4 separate regions of the Homo sapiens genome follow, and regions 2, 3 and 4 are each linked to region 1. Evidence: promoter capture Hi-C in 16 types of primary human blood cells and fetal thymus (Javierre and others, 2016). All regions are on one chromosome and are shown on one strand. Each heading gives the region's core, a stretch centred on a gene start or on the middle of the fragment in contact. The rest is flanking DNA. Distances are from core to core; before and after follow the strand shown. Region 1 holds the start of RBKS (ribokinase). Region 2 has its middle 44 kb from the start of FOSL2-AS1. Region 3 has its middle 27 kb from the start of FOSL2-AS1. Region 4 overlaps FOSL2 (FOS like 2, AP-1 transcription factor subunit).

Region 1 (3,362 bases), core at 553-3,052:
ATACATGCTCTATTTTTATACAAAATTTAGTAAGTACCATATAACCTTTTCTTGAAAAGAGTCATCACCAGTAAAATCAATTGCTATATTGTGTTGTAAACACAGTAATGTTCTTTCTACACAGATGTCTGCAAACTATGGCCTGCAGGATGTTCTTGTAAGGCTTGGGAGGTAAGAATGGTTTTTACATTTAAAAAATGTTGTTAAAAAAAAATGTGACCTTGACCACATACGGCTTGCAAAGCCTAAAATATTTACTATCTGGCCCTTTACAGAAAAGTTTACTTACTCTTGCTCTAGAAAAAGATGTACAGGCCTCTTCAACAAATGTCTCCAACTAGATTCAATTTTATGCTCTGTCACCAAAGGAAAGTATTTTTATCTTGGCACAGTGTCTGACAGAATAGTTCTAATATTTGTGGAAAAATAAAGGTCATTGGTATTTAAAATTCTTTTGTTGCTTCTTCTCGTTACACAGTCTCCTACTCATCCTCAAGTTTTCGTCAGTCACTATAACTGCCTCTAGCAGTCTCTTCTCTAACTCCCACCTTTCTAATCTCAGTGGAAATTTGGTAACACAGCTTATAAATATTTTAAGGTAAGGTTAAATTGGTTACATGAAGACCCTAGACCTATTTTCTGAGTAGAATACAGGTGGTTTGGTGCAGCAATTTGGTGACTTATTTTGATTGTCCCAAAGCCTTTTTGTTTAGTTCCACGTTCTCTATTACCCTTTGGAAAAGCAACATTTCAGGACGAATGAGGTGTTACTGTAGCATACCTGATCATTTTTATAACACAAAGTAGCATTACAACTGAAAAGATATTCATCAAAAGACTGAACTGCAGTAATTGGAGTGGTAGGATTTTCTTGGAATATCTGAATTTATTACTAATTTTACAGTGAACATACATTACTTTTGTAATCAGAAAAGCTACCTTAATTTAAAAAAAAGAAAAATCAGAAGGATCTGTCTACTCAATCTTACTGACCTAACTCAACAATTTTCATTTGGCATATTTTCTATCATAATTTGATCATCGTTTTCAGAGGTTGTAAATACTGTGTTTATGTTTTTATTTTGATTCATACTTGGCTTGCTGAAAAATACGCTGTAAATATAAAATACTGCAGTAATGCCGACAATCAACATGGTGAAAGGTGACAGTCTTTTTGATTTCTGCTCAACTCATTATTTTATACAATAAGCTCAGACGAATAATACCCAATTTGGATAATGTTACGCTTGACAAAACACTTTACTTCATTTAGTCCTCACAACAACCCTGTGAGGTAGGCACATTCTCGGAGGTAAAATGACGTGGGCAAAGTTCCCTGGCTCGTTTGGGGAAAGGCTCAGCAGCCGGGCCAAGAAAGGTCTTTGGGGGCGCAAGTCTTTGGAGGGCAGGTCTTTGGGGAGCGCTTTGAGTAATATTAGAGCTTTCACTAAACCCTGGCCTATTACGTCCCCTCCCCTGAGATTTACCTTTATATACTCAAGTTCTTTCATGCCAGGAAGGTAGGCTGAAGGCTTCGAAAACCTGCAGCTCATACCCAAAGCTAGCACTGTCTATCCCTGGAGACCCAGCGCCCAAAAGCTCCACTGGGCGCATAGCGCACGGCACGCCTCCTCCCCCGAGCCGCAGACTGAGTAACTGGCCCCGGACTAACCTGACCAGGTCGGTCATGCAGGAGCCCACCACTACCACCGCCGCCACCTCCTCTTGCCACTGCCTCTGGGGTTCCCCAGACGCCGCCATCGCTCAAAGGTGCTGCTGTCCAACCTGGACGGTGACCTCTGCCCTTTGCCCGACCCCGTAACCAGAGACGCCACTCCTGCCCTCCCTAACGACGCGGGCCTTTCAGACGCCTACGCGGGTCGCCCACCTGACTGCCCGAAATCACCCCGCCCACCAAGTGTCCCCTCTTCTTCCTGGAATAGTCTCGGTGCACAGCCTCACGTAACAGGGCCCTCCTGATATGGCGAGACTCCGCGCTCCTCGTCACTCACGGGGCAGGCGCTGAGGAAGGAACTGTCAGGCACCGCGGGGACGCCTTTCCGAGCGCCCGGCTCGGCGCGGCGCGGGGGCGCGCACGCCGCCCAGCTTCGGGGCCGCAGAGGGGGCGGGGCGGGACGTCCGGGGAGTGCGCACGCATCCTGCCCGCGGCGCGCGCGCAGGTCGGTGCGTCTGTCGGGGGCGCGCTCGGGTACCTGTACCCCACGTAGTCGCCGGTTACCGATCGGACTAAGTTCCAGGTACCTGGACTGGGGCTGGTGCGGGGAGGTTGGATCCCGAGTCGCACAGGTGGCGTGGAGAACTGTGGTTTAAATATGGCCAGGGGACTCGCCTCCTCTTCCTATGGAGAAGGCCCCCGTTCCAAAGATGCCCTTCTCATCCCCATCACGCTGATTCCCTCAAGAACGAGCCCCCAAGGCCAGAGGCGTCTCTTTCTCCATATCTGGCCCATCCCCTGGTTCCTGTAAACCCCGAGTATTAGTTCCTTGTTGCCTGATGAGGGGAATCATACAGTTTGGAAGAGGGGAGAGTGTCCCTTTTTAAGACGTCCCCTAGAGTGGGGTGGTCATTCTTCGGGTCTGAGCTAACTTGTTTTTCTCGAATGTTGCCCCTTGGGGGAAATTGCTTCCCCAGTGTAACTTCCCTCGTGCGCTGTATGACGTCGACGTGACGCAGCAGGATGCCACCCCTTTCCGTTCCATGACGTCAGCAGGGCACATGTTTCCGTGTTTGTCATCTCATTTTAATTGCAAGAACCTGGATGGTGCTTTAGACGTCTTTGTAATCCCCAGGCCTCTCATCAAAGGACCTTTTGTAACTTTATTTTGGGGTAGCAGACCCTTGCAAAAATTGTAATTTTGCATTTTCCTTTTGCAATACGTCAAAATCAGGAAATACAAATTGCAGTAGTAGTATTCAGGGGACTCTGACCACCGTAAATATTTGTATATCTGGGGTGTATTATAGTGCTGCCATGCGTAAGAGTTACTACCGGTGGTGACTCCCTGTCCATGTACCCGGTTCACTGCACCAAAGGACCAGTGTTTTTGGCTAAGTGACTTCTGATTTTGGAGTCATTGTGTTCCACTCCCCACCCCCCGCCCTTTTTTTTTAGAGAAGTCACACCTCCTCATGGTTGAAATAGATTTTAATACTGCGTGAAACCTTGCACTGTTAAAACATAGTATTATGGCTGCCCTGGAAATAGAATTCATTCCCTCAGGTGTCATCCTAAAGTCACGACCGTTGCTGAATTAGAATGTATTGTTGTCACTTAGTATGGTTTGGCTTCTAGAGCAAGGCTGTTCCCTTTAACATTTGACTAGTGAATCACTCAGACCAGG
Region 2 (3,362 bases), core at 297-2,796, 550 kb after region 1:
GCAGGAGTGAGATAATGTCTGCTGCAGCTCAGCCTTCCACTGAACGAGGCAGTCTCTAGACGGAGTCTAATTTTACTGCCTAGAGCTCAGCCAGCTCCCTCTGGGGGCCCCTTGCTGCTCCCTGGCCCCTTCTGCAGGATCCACAGGCCCAACCTTGGCTTGGCTGTGGGAGGATCCCGAGGGCCAGCGCCCAGCTCTTGGGCCCGAGGCCTGGGCCTAGATTCATTCTTTCATAGCCCATTGTTCAGGGTTCAAGGAGCCGCCCACCCACCCGCCCCTGGCATTCTGGTTAAACCAGGAGTCTGGGCGGCCAGGCGTGGCCTGGGCCTAATGAGCAGGGTGTGCCCGGAGGAGTTGTTAGGAGCAGGGCGACAGCTGTGGGCAGGTTCCTACCCACCACGTGGGCGGGTGGCTTGCACAACAGCCCCCTGCGCGTTGGCGTGCTGCACGGCATTCTTGCCATGTGTTTATTTTTTAAAAACAAATGCTCAACGTTGGTGGGAGTGGTGAAGATATTTCTAAATGTTTCAAAGACATTGTGTTAACATGTTTTAAACCCCGAAGTCTATTGTCTTAGGAAAGTTGGTGCAAGTCTGTAGGATTTCCACCAGTCACAAAGAAGGCAGAATGCCAAAATCATAACAGGTAACCCCTTCCCCATGATTTTCAAAAGGAGGAATCTTCCAGAGTCACTTGGGGATTATGGGCAGGTGGCCCCACCAGGGCCGTCCTCCATGCCTGGTCTGTGGAGGAGGAGCTCCCTGCTCTCAGGGCAAACACAAGTGCATCCCAGCCGCTGGTTTCCTCTCCTGGGCTTGTTGACAGGAGGGTGGAATTCCAGGCCTGCTTGGTTTTCATGCATGGGGCTGTTAACTAGGATCCCTGGCAGCTCGAGGAGTTTTGGACCAAATCAATCCTCCAAGTAATGACCAGGCGAACTCAAGGCACTGTCTGTGTGTCACTGTGTATCTGGGACAGCCTTTGCTGTATTTGAGAGAAGCCGGTCTCCTGCCTTGCAGCAGAGCGTAGTTTGGTTGGTAGTTGGGGGTGGGTCATCCTGTTGTTGAAGTACCTCTTTGTGCCCCTGGAGACTTGCATTCTGGGTCCTGCTGTTAGTTGGGAGGTTTCCAGCTTAGAAACATTGTGGTCATCAGACGCCTTAATGGGAAAGCTGTAGCGAGGACAAGGGCAGGTGGGCCTAAGAAGAAGAGAGGTTGGAAGGATGTATCCTCGCATTCCAGATGGATGCCGCACAGGTCTAACAGCACAGAGGGAGAATCTGGAAACACCAGACTGCAGAGTTGGGTGGGACCCAGCATGGAGGGTGTTCCTCTAGTATCTCTGTCCAATATCATAATCGCCCAGGCCGCAGTGAGAGCATGGGCTAAAATTCACGCAGTCATTTCCTTCATGAGATAGCTTTGCAGATCACTGTGGTTGACTCGTGGGATACAGAAAGGTCAAGCCATTCTTGAAAGATCTCTTGTCAACACAACATCCCATCTAGCTCGAGTTCAGATCTCTTATGTGAGCCCCTGACGCTGCGGACCTGCCCCCCCGGCCATCACTCATCCAGCCTTCACAGGGCAGCAGGTGGCCACCATCTCCTCGGCTGAAAATGCCCTTGGAATGAAATGTACACCTCTTCAGTGCCCCCAACCCCTCCCTCCCTCACCGCTCCCATCTAAGCCACTCACTGTGCTCCGGACAAAATGGCCTCCTGCAGGCTGTTGCACATGATATGCTAAGCCTTCCCTTCCGTCTGCCTCTGCAATACACTGTCATTGCTATTCTTATCCCTATTTTTCCTATTTATTTCAGAAAAATTAAAATCCTACCTTCCCTGTTCTGGAAAGCATTCTTGCACCATGCCCTTCAAGACTGACTCAGTGGAGGGGGCTGCTGGAAGGAGCTGGAAGTTATATTGTTAGGGAGGGGACAGCCATGAGTTGGGAGGTCAGAATAGAAAATCTAAAAGTATTTTCAGTCTTGCAAGTAAGACAACTATCTATTGTGACGAAAAGAGTGACGTCACTTAGTGTGAGACCTTGGGCAAGTTCACCCCGCTTTCTGAGCCTCAAATTCCCCATCTCCAAATTGGGAACCATGAATCCCACCTCTCAGGGGCTTGTGAGGACCCACGGATGTGACCCTCATGAAAGTCTGGACCTGACACGAGGGAGATACATCATGAGCATCAGCCCTCCTTCCCCATCCCACAGGCCAGGAGCATCTGTCAGTGCCCCAGTGCTGACTCTCCAGGGCACTCTTCGGACTGAGGAGGAGGCAGAGGGCCTCATCAGCGGGGGCAGGGGGACCAGGAGGACTGGATGTTAACAAATTGCCCAGCACCAGTGGCCGTCATGTTTGTTTCTTAATTAGGCCGAGTTAATGAATGTCGTGGCTCGTGATTCACTGCTTTGGAGGATATATCCCTTTCTGTTTGCCTTCCTCTCACCTGGGCCTGACAGCTGCCACCCCCACGCCACCACCCTCCACACTCCTCTGCCACACAGCAGGCCTTGGAGTCAGCCCACCTGCCGGAGGGGGTGGCCATACTCAGTCTTGGGCCCCCAGCCCTGCTCCATCAGGGTTCCTGGACTGGCAGAGCCAGAGGGGACAATGGAGAGCCCCCATCAGTGCTGAGGAACTCAGCGTAGAACGCCCTGAGCTAGGCCCTCCCCTGAGCCCCGCTTTACTTTCACAGGTGGCAGGGCGGGCAACGGCCGCACGGGTGTTAGCAACAGAGTCCAGGCCAGCGGGCTGAGGCCCTGGACAGGTGTCGGGAGCCAGACTCATGACGCTTCCCCCACCTGCCCCCTTCCCTCTGCCCGCTACAGACAACACACGCCTGAAGCAGGGCTGAGCCCTGGGCGCAGTGGATAAGGCCTCTCCTTTTCGTCCATACAAACCTCTAGGGGACTTGCCATGCTTGTGGGGAGCCAGGTTGTCAGAAAATGGGCTCATGGGTGAGGTCTCCTGAAACTTCTAGCTTCTCCTGGGAGACCAGGGAGGGCAGAGATTTTAAAGTTTAAAAGGGTCCACATGTTCCTCAGTCTGAGAACCAGGCAGTCCTACGGAGAGGCCAGGGCTCAGCACTCACTCACTTCTTCAATGCCACCTTCCATACCCACTGTTTAAGAAGTCACCACCTTGGGCCTGAGCTGGGGGTGCTGTAGAGTGGAGCAGGGGCAAGCTGAGGGGGACAGAGGTCTAGCGGCAATTCTGGTGGAGAGTAAGCTCAACCTCTGGACAACCCAAAGACATTTCCTCCATGTGCCTTCCTCCAATGCCACTTTTTATTTTCTGAATTGTCTGCAAGGAGAGTGAGATGTTGGGCACTGCAGCCAGAAAGACCTTGT
Region 3 (3,362 bases), core at 616-3,115, 530 kb after region 1:
TAGGCTAGCGTGCCGTGGTGTGATCTTGGCTTATTGCAACCTCTGCCTCCCGGGTTCAAGCTATTCTCCTGCCTCAGCCTCCCAAGTAGCTGGGATTACAGGCGCCCACCACCACGCCCAGCTAATTTTTTGTATTTTTAGTAGAGACGGAGTTTCGTCATGTTGTCCAGGCTGGTCTCGAACTCCTGACCTCAGGTGATCCACTCGTCTCGGCCTCCCAAAATGCTGGGATTATAGGCGTGAGCCATTGCACCCAACCCATCCAGTCTTTGCAGTCAGCTTCTGCCTTTGCCAAACCTTCCTGGAGTGGAGAGGGGACTATACCCCATGACTGCCCATTGGGCAGATCCTCCTCCTCCTCGTCCATTAGGCCCCTCATGAGTAGAGGCCACAGTGAAGTGCATCCGTAGTCTATCCATAGCCTGTGAGTTGTTGTCCCTGGAAAGTTCCACTCACTTGAAGAAAAAAAATAGAACCTTCTTCAGGCTCCACCTCTGGAAGTGGGAAGTCCTTAACCAAACTAAACACCTTCACAAGTCCTTCTGTAAGCCCAAGGGGAAAACAAACCAAAACACAAACACTCCGCAGTGGCCTGGACTGCAGTGGCATTCGGCTGAATGTCTCTGAGGGCACTGTGAGGACAGGGCCCTGGTTAGACACGGGGGACCCCCCTTCTTTCTCCAAAGGCAAAGTACAGGCTGCTGTGGGGCCTTCAGATCTGCTGCTATTTCAGAGCATAACGCTGCCTTGTCCCTCAGGACCTTTGGAAACTATTCAGTATTATATAGGTGACATATCTTTGTTTTGTGGTGGAATTCATATAGAAGAAAATGAACCATTTTAGAGTGAACAATTCAGTGGCATTTATTACCTTCACGATGTTGTATAATACAACTACCACCTCTGTCTAGTTGCAAAATATTTTCATCACCCAGAAAGAAAACCCCAAACCCATTAAGCTACTACTCCCCAGTCCTCCCTCCCCAACCCCTGACAACCACCAATCTGCTTTCTGTCTCTATGGATTTATATTTAGGTAGTATTTCTGAGAATCCCAGTGACTCTATTTTCTGAACTAAAAAAGAATCATGAAACATTAGCACAGAAAATAAACTAATAGAGACTAGTGGTACTGTTTCCCCTTTATTTCCATACTTCGTAACCTTTTCATGTGCCTTTATATAAATGGTCTCATTCAGTAACCCAAGAGACAAATGTTGCTGGATGTGTTGGAAAATCTCAACTCCATTAGAAATTCTCTCTTTTTTTTTTTCTTTTTATTTTATTTATTTTTGAGATGGAGTCTCGCTCTATTGTTTGGGTAGAGTGCAGCGGCACAATCTTGGCTCACTGCAACCTCTGCCTCCCGGGTTCATGTGATTCTTCTGCCTCAGCCTCCCAAGTAGCTGGGACTACAGGCATGCACCACCAAGCCCAGCTAATTTTTGTATTTTTAGTAAAGATGGGGTTTCACCATGTTGGCCAGGCTGGTCTCGAACTCCTGATCTGTAGTGATCCACCTGCCTCGGCCTCCCAAAGTGCTGGGATTACAGGGGTTAGCTACTGCACCCGGCCAGAAATTCCTTTTTTCTTACACAGTGGTGTGTCTGTTCCACTGGCAAGTACAGTTACTACCTTGATCCAGTGCAAATGGCATGCATTTGTTTCTCAAAGATGGAATAAATCTGAAAAGACAGACTACATTCACTGATAAAAACAGACACCTTGTGTTTTAAACATAAGAGAACCGCATTTAAAAAAATTAGTGTGCAGTTGGAGACTGTCACCATTATATTCTTACAGGGATGAGGGAGAAAATATTCATTAAAAAATATTTTTGTGTTCCTACTAAGTGCATGACACCGCCAAAGGCACTCTTGGGACACAGTTCTATAAGACACTGTTGATGCCAGTGTTAGAAATGAGGTGTCTCTTTATTTCACAGCCAAATGTTTTCACTGGAAATAGCAATGAACTAAAAACTAGAAGCTGCCCTCAAGGAGGTTGCAATCTGGTTGGAGTGGAAGGAGAAGGAGCACAGACATTTTGGCCTGTGGCAGGTGGGGGGATTTCAGAGACAATTCCATGGAGGAGAGGATCCTAAATTGGAGCCTGAAAGTGGGATGGCTATGGGTAAGATGGAGTGGAGCCGGGCACGGTGGCTCACACCTGTAATCCCAGCACTTCAGGAGGCCCAAGGCAGGTGGATCACTTGAGGCCAGGAGTTCAAGACCAGCCTGGGTAACACGACAAGACCTCGTCTCTATAAAAACTTAAAAAATTAGCTGGGCATGGTTGCATACACCTGTGATCCCAGCTACTCAGGAGGCTGAGGTGGGAGGACCGCTTGAGCCCAGGAGGTGGAGGCTGCAGTGAATTGTGATAATGCCACTGCATTCCAGCCTGGACAGCAAAGTGAGACCCTGCCTCAAAAAAAAAAAAAAAAAAAAAAATGGATAAAGAAGAGAGCAAGCGTGCCTGGCCAAGGGAACAATCTAACACAAGGGGAAGAGAACATGGGTTGGCTTTGGGGGCTGTGCAGGAGGCCTGGATGTCCTGAGCATGGGCTGATTGGGGATGTTGGAAATTTAAGCTGCCAACCTAAGGCAGGCTTGAACCTTTCTATAGTCAGTCTATCAACGCCTTTTATTGAGTGCCTATTTGTGCTAGGCACTGTTCTCGGCTCCAGGAAGACAGAGGGGACAAGGAAGCCTTAGGGCCCCCACCCCCACCCCAGGCCATTGTCCTGGCTACTGGCCATTGTAGAATAAGTAATTACAGGTTCACGAGTGTCTCACAGAGATGTATAAGGCACCATGGGGGCAGGTACCAAGGGGACTTTCCCTAGTCTGGGGGATGGTTAGAAAGGGCTTTCCAGAATCAGTGGCATTTAAACAGACCCCAAAAGTAAGAAGAAATGAGAGATTTATTTCTAGGTATTGGAAGCTGCAAATGGGGCAGCTGCATGGCGGAGGGGTGACACAGCCGCAGTCCCACTCTAGAGAGGTTATTGCTGCAGGTGTGCAGGAAAGGTGGGCGGGGGGAGGAAGGAGGCCCCGCAAGAGTCCGCACTAGCAGTGATGTCAGAAGGACGTTCCTGGGGAAGCCGAGTCTGAGAGGTCTGGTTCCAGGAATAAAAACTGGGAGGCAAGAGGAGGAGCTGGGTCGGGGGCAGGAGGCCCAGGTCCTGAGTTCGGTTTTAGGCATTTAATGCCAGGAGCTGGAGGACGTGCAGATGGGTGCCACCATCACGTCATGTTTCCACCCTGCCCTGGTCCTGAGCCCTCTGTGTTTTCCCGGCCAGTGTTCTCTTGTTCCCCAGAGGGGCTCCCCTCTTCTCAGGCCCCCCAGCCCCCTCACTT
Region 4 (3,362 bases), core at 309-2,808, 510 kb after region 1:
GGCTCTGGCCTCTTTGTCAGGCTGGACTGGGTTTGAATCCTGACCCCGCTGCTTATTAGCAATGTGGCCTTGAATAAGTTACTTAATCTCACTAAGCCTAAATTTCTGTCCCTAAAATGGAGCTAATGGTCGTTCTTCACTCAGAGAGAGAATTAGTGAGATAATCTAGGTAAGCCATGGTGTCTGACATTTAGTAAGTGCCCAGGAAGTGTTGTTAGCTATTGTCTTCATCTCACCCAGTTTTTAAGTGGGGAAGAAACTACTTGGAGAAGCTTTATGTGGACACAGGAGTCATCTGAAGATGAAGGTTCACCTGGGTTCCATTAGGGGGACTTGCCTCTGAAAAGCTGGAAGTAGGGGGCTCTTCTCTCCTTCCCGCTTCTTGCAGTTTCCAGTAGCTGCCTTGGAGAAAGGTCAGGACCAGCTGCTAAGGAGCACAGCCCATTTTAGTTTCTATACTCTGTCATCATCTTATATTTTAAATAGAATGCTTCCTGCAGCATGTTCCAGAGAGCTCTGCAACGTGGTCTGGGCATAAATTAAGAAGCGGGGAGAAAACTGCACTAGCAGCACCAGAGTTTCCCACAGAAACATCTGTGAACATAGATCAATGCCTATGTAGCTGGGTAGAGAGACACACTCAGCCAGTCTGCCCCAAGCAAGATGCTGATGATGGGAAGGGAGGAGGGACAAGGACAGCAAGGGATGTCTGGCTGCAAATGCCGCTACTTGTTAGTCTCCTGGGTTAGAGGACATCTTTTCACGGACCTGGCTGTGCCCTGATGGAGTCATAGCTCTGTCCTGAACCTCTTTGGAAAGTGACAAAGGCAGACACAGTATGCTCCCTTGGTGATCTTTGTTGGTCCAAGGCTACTGGTGTGCAAATCCCTTCAAGGTGTCCTGAGCTGGTACCCTGAGAAACAGTTGGCAGGCGACTCAGAGGCTTAAAAACCCAGGTGCCACATCCTGCAGATGTGTATCCTGGAGAGCTGCCAAGAGGGCCTGCCGAGTGTGAGTGCTGGGGACCACGTCTATCTTGGAAGTCATTTGGAATAGGACAGTATCCTCACTGAGCCACCTGGGGATGGAGTTCTCAGGACCCCAGTCAGGGAGCAGATCCGACGTGAAGCCCCAGGCATAATTAAGATTCCCCCCTTGATTCTTGGATGCACAGGACTTGTCCAGGCCCACCTGGGGTCCTGACCTTGCCCTTCGAACACTGACTGTGCTCTGTGCTGGTTTTTGCCTCAGCTCTGTTCAATTATTATTAACTATCCTGTTCAGCTTAGTATTTATTGGCTCATTTGTATTTTTTTTCCTCATTTCAGAAATTCCGGGTAGATATGCCTGGCTCAGGCAGTGCATTCATCCCCACCATCAACGCCATCACGACCAGCCAGGACCTGCAGTGGATGGTGCAGCCCACAGTGATCACCTCCATGTCCAACCCATACCCTCGCTCGCACCCCTACAGCCCCCTGCCGGGCCTGGCCTCTGTCCCTGGACACATGGCCCTCCCAAGACCTGGCGTGATCAAGACCATTGGCACCACCGTGGGCCGCAGGAGGAGAGATGAGCAGGTACAGCTCAGACCAGTGGGAAGGAGCCACGTCAGTGGCTTTCAGAGCCCCAGAAACACAGAACGGGTTTCTGCAGACTGGGAGGGTTAATGTTCTGAGAGCAGGGGAGACAAGGGAGCTAGGGGTCGAAGAGCACGTCATCCCCCTTACTGGAGGCCGAGCTGGAGAGCCAAGACTCAGGCTGGCTCTGTCATCTCGCTTATGTCCCTTAGAATCTCTGAGTCTCACTTTCCTCAGCCACAAAATGGGGATCATGGTCCCTGCAAGCCAGGACTTGGCTACAGATGGGAAGGACCATTACGACCTGCCCACAGCAGGATCCTTCTCTGATCCTTGGCAAAAGGGCCATGGGACAAGCAGCCAATGAACCCTGGCTGTGAGCTTTTTAGGATTATCCCTTAGCCGTCTCCCAGGGTCTAGTGCAGGCCAGGCACCCAGCAGACCTACGGGGTCAAGCTCTGGGTCGGTACTGCCCACGACTTCCCATTCCTCCTCAGTGTTCTAGGCCTCCAACTCGGAGCAGGAGCCTATTTCAAGGGCCTGGAATGCATGTTCCAGAGGTGCAGTAACTCTGGGGCCTTAGGAGTCTGTTCAGTGGCATGGACAGGAGGATGAGGCAGGGGAGGCCAGACATCAGCCCTTTTCTCTTCAAGGGGCTCAGCTTTGAGAAAGAATTAACCTGGCTGGGGAGGGAAGCCAGAAAATGGGGAAGGGGGGGCTCTGCTATTTAGGCAGCACCTACCTAGTACTCAAGAGGCTCATTGCCTGGATCAGCAGTAAGCCAGGGCAGTGCCAAGTTCCCTGGTCTTGGAAAGGGAAATCAGAATCATGCATAATTCCAGAAAGAATGGGATAAAGCCTCAGAGAGCCCCACCTCTCCCCCATGTCAGATGATACAAGCAAGGGCCAGACATACCTGTGTGTGGCCACTCGGCCAGTGAGTGGGGAAGTCTGGGCTAGATCCCAGTTCCCTGGACCCCCTATGCAGTATTCTTTCTCCAGGGCTATGCCACCCTGAGCCCAGGGAAGGGAAAAATACTTTAGCAGTGGAATCCCTTTTTCAAATGAATTGTTATCCTGGGAAACTATTTCAGTGACAGCCTTGGAACCCTTCCTCATTTCAACCACTGTCCATCTTCACTCTGTGATCCCCAGGGCCACAATGTTCCAATATACGGACCTTTCAAACATGGTTCCCAGTGGATCAGGGTAGATCCAGACCCCAGGATACTTGGAATTACAGGGATCACCACACCAAGAAACTGGAAGCTTTCTCAGGAGCTCTGCTCCTGCGAGGACAAAGCTGGGTCTTGTATCCACTACTTGTTGGTTTGTTCTGTTAATGGCAGAACCACGGTGCAGAGCCACTTGGGGAGGTGTGTCTGCTAGACACTATAATGGATTCACAGCTGCATGTTGGGCCTCTGCTGCTGGAGCAAGTGGCCAGTATCCTCCTCACAGTTGCTTTCTATAATTGCAGTTGTAAATATTGCAGTAGCCATGCTTGTAAGGACTTTTATAAATAGGCTTCCTTCACGGAATCCAAGGTGCAAAGCCTTATACTCACTGATGAGCTGGACTCTTCTGGGATATAAGTGATCCTGAGTGAGAGCCAGGCTTGCCAGGTACTCTTTGGGGCTAGCAGGACCACAAAGCCTGAGGATGTGCTGAATGCTCTCCATTCCCTTTTTTTTTTTTTTTTTTTTTTTCTTTTTGAGATGGAGTCCTGCTCTATCACTCAGGCTAGAATGCAGTGGCACGATCTCGGCTCACTACAACCTC

The links. The method cuts DNA at HindIII sites, captures the fragments that hold promoters and counts their contacts. A CHiCAGO score of 5 or more calls a contact.
Region 2: a fragment that was not itself captured here is called in contact with the fragment with the promoter of RBKS in region 1 in 1 of 17 cell types (M2 macrophages); the score reaches 5.2 in M2 macrophages.
Region 3: a contact is called between a fragment that was not itself captured here and the fragment with the promoter of RBKS in region 1, in 3 of 17 cell types (activated CD4 T cells, M0 macrophages and monocytes). The highest score is 8.5, in activated CD4 T cells.
Region 4: a fragment that was not itself captured here is called in contact with the fragment with the promoter of RBKS in region 1 in 7 of 17 cell types (activated CD4 T cells, M2 macrophages, endothelial precursors and 4 more); the score reaches 11.5 in activated CD4 T cells.

Annotation. Positions count from the first base shown.
Region 1 is chr2:27,888,585-27,891,946 of GRCh38, forward strand. RBKS (ribokinase) reads right to left here and starts at 1,803. Exons shown (of 8, transcript NM_022128.3): 1 at 1,673-1,803. The coding sequence starts at 1,761. It overlaps BABAM2 (BRISC and BRCA1 A complex member 2), which reads left to right and starts at 2,145. Exons shown (of 12, transcript NM_199191.3): 1 at 2,145-2,258. It overlaps BABAM2-AS1 (BABAM2 antisense RNA 1), which reads right to left and starts at 2,530. Exons shown (of 1, transcript NR_028308.1): 1 at 872-2,530. RefSeq lists a silencer at 1,991-2,270. The HindIII fragment of the contact is 13,557 bases long and covers 1-3,362 here.
Region 2 is chr2:28,437,296-28,440,657 of GRCh38, forward strand. No RefSeq gene overlaps it. Among named protein-coding and RNA genes, the nearest start is that of FOSL2-AS1, 44 kb to the left of the region's middle. RefSeq lists an enhancer at 2,587-3,086. The HindIII fragment of the contact is 8,626 bases long and covers 1-3,362 here.
Region 3 is chr2:28,420,295-28,423,656 of GRCh38, forward strand. No RefSeq gene overlaps it. Among named protein-coding and RNA genes, the nearest start is that of FOSL2-AS1, 27 kb to the left of the region's middle. The HindIII fragment of the contact is 5,483 bases long and covers 1-3,362 here.
Region 4 is chr2:28,402,779-28,406,140 of GRCh38, forward strand. FOSL2 (FOS like 2, AP-1 transcription factor subunit) reads left to right here. Exons shown (of 4, transcript NM_005253.4): 2 at 1,329-1,580. Among named protein-coding and RNA genes, the nearest start is that of FOSL2-AS1, 9.8 kb to the left of the region's middle. The HindIII fragment of the contact is 2,577 bases long and covers 271-2,847 here.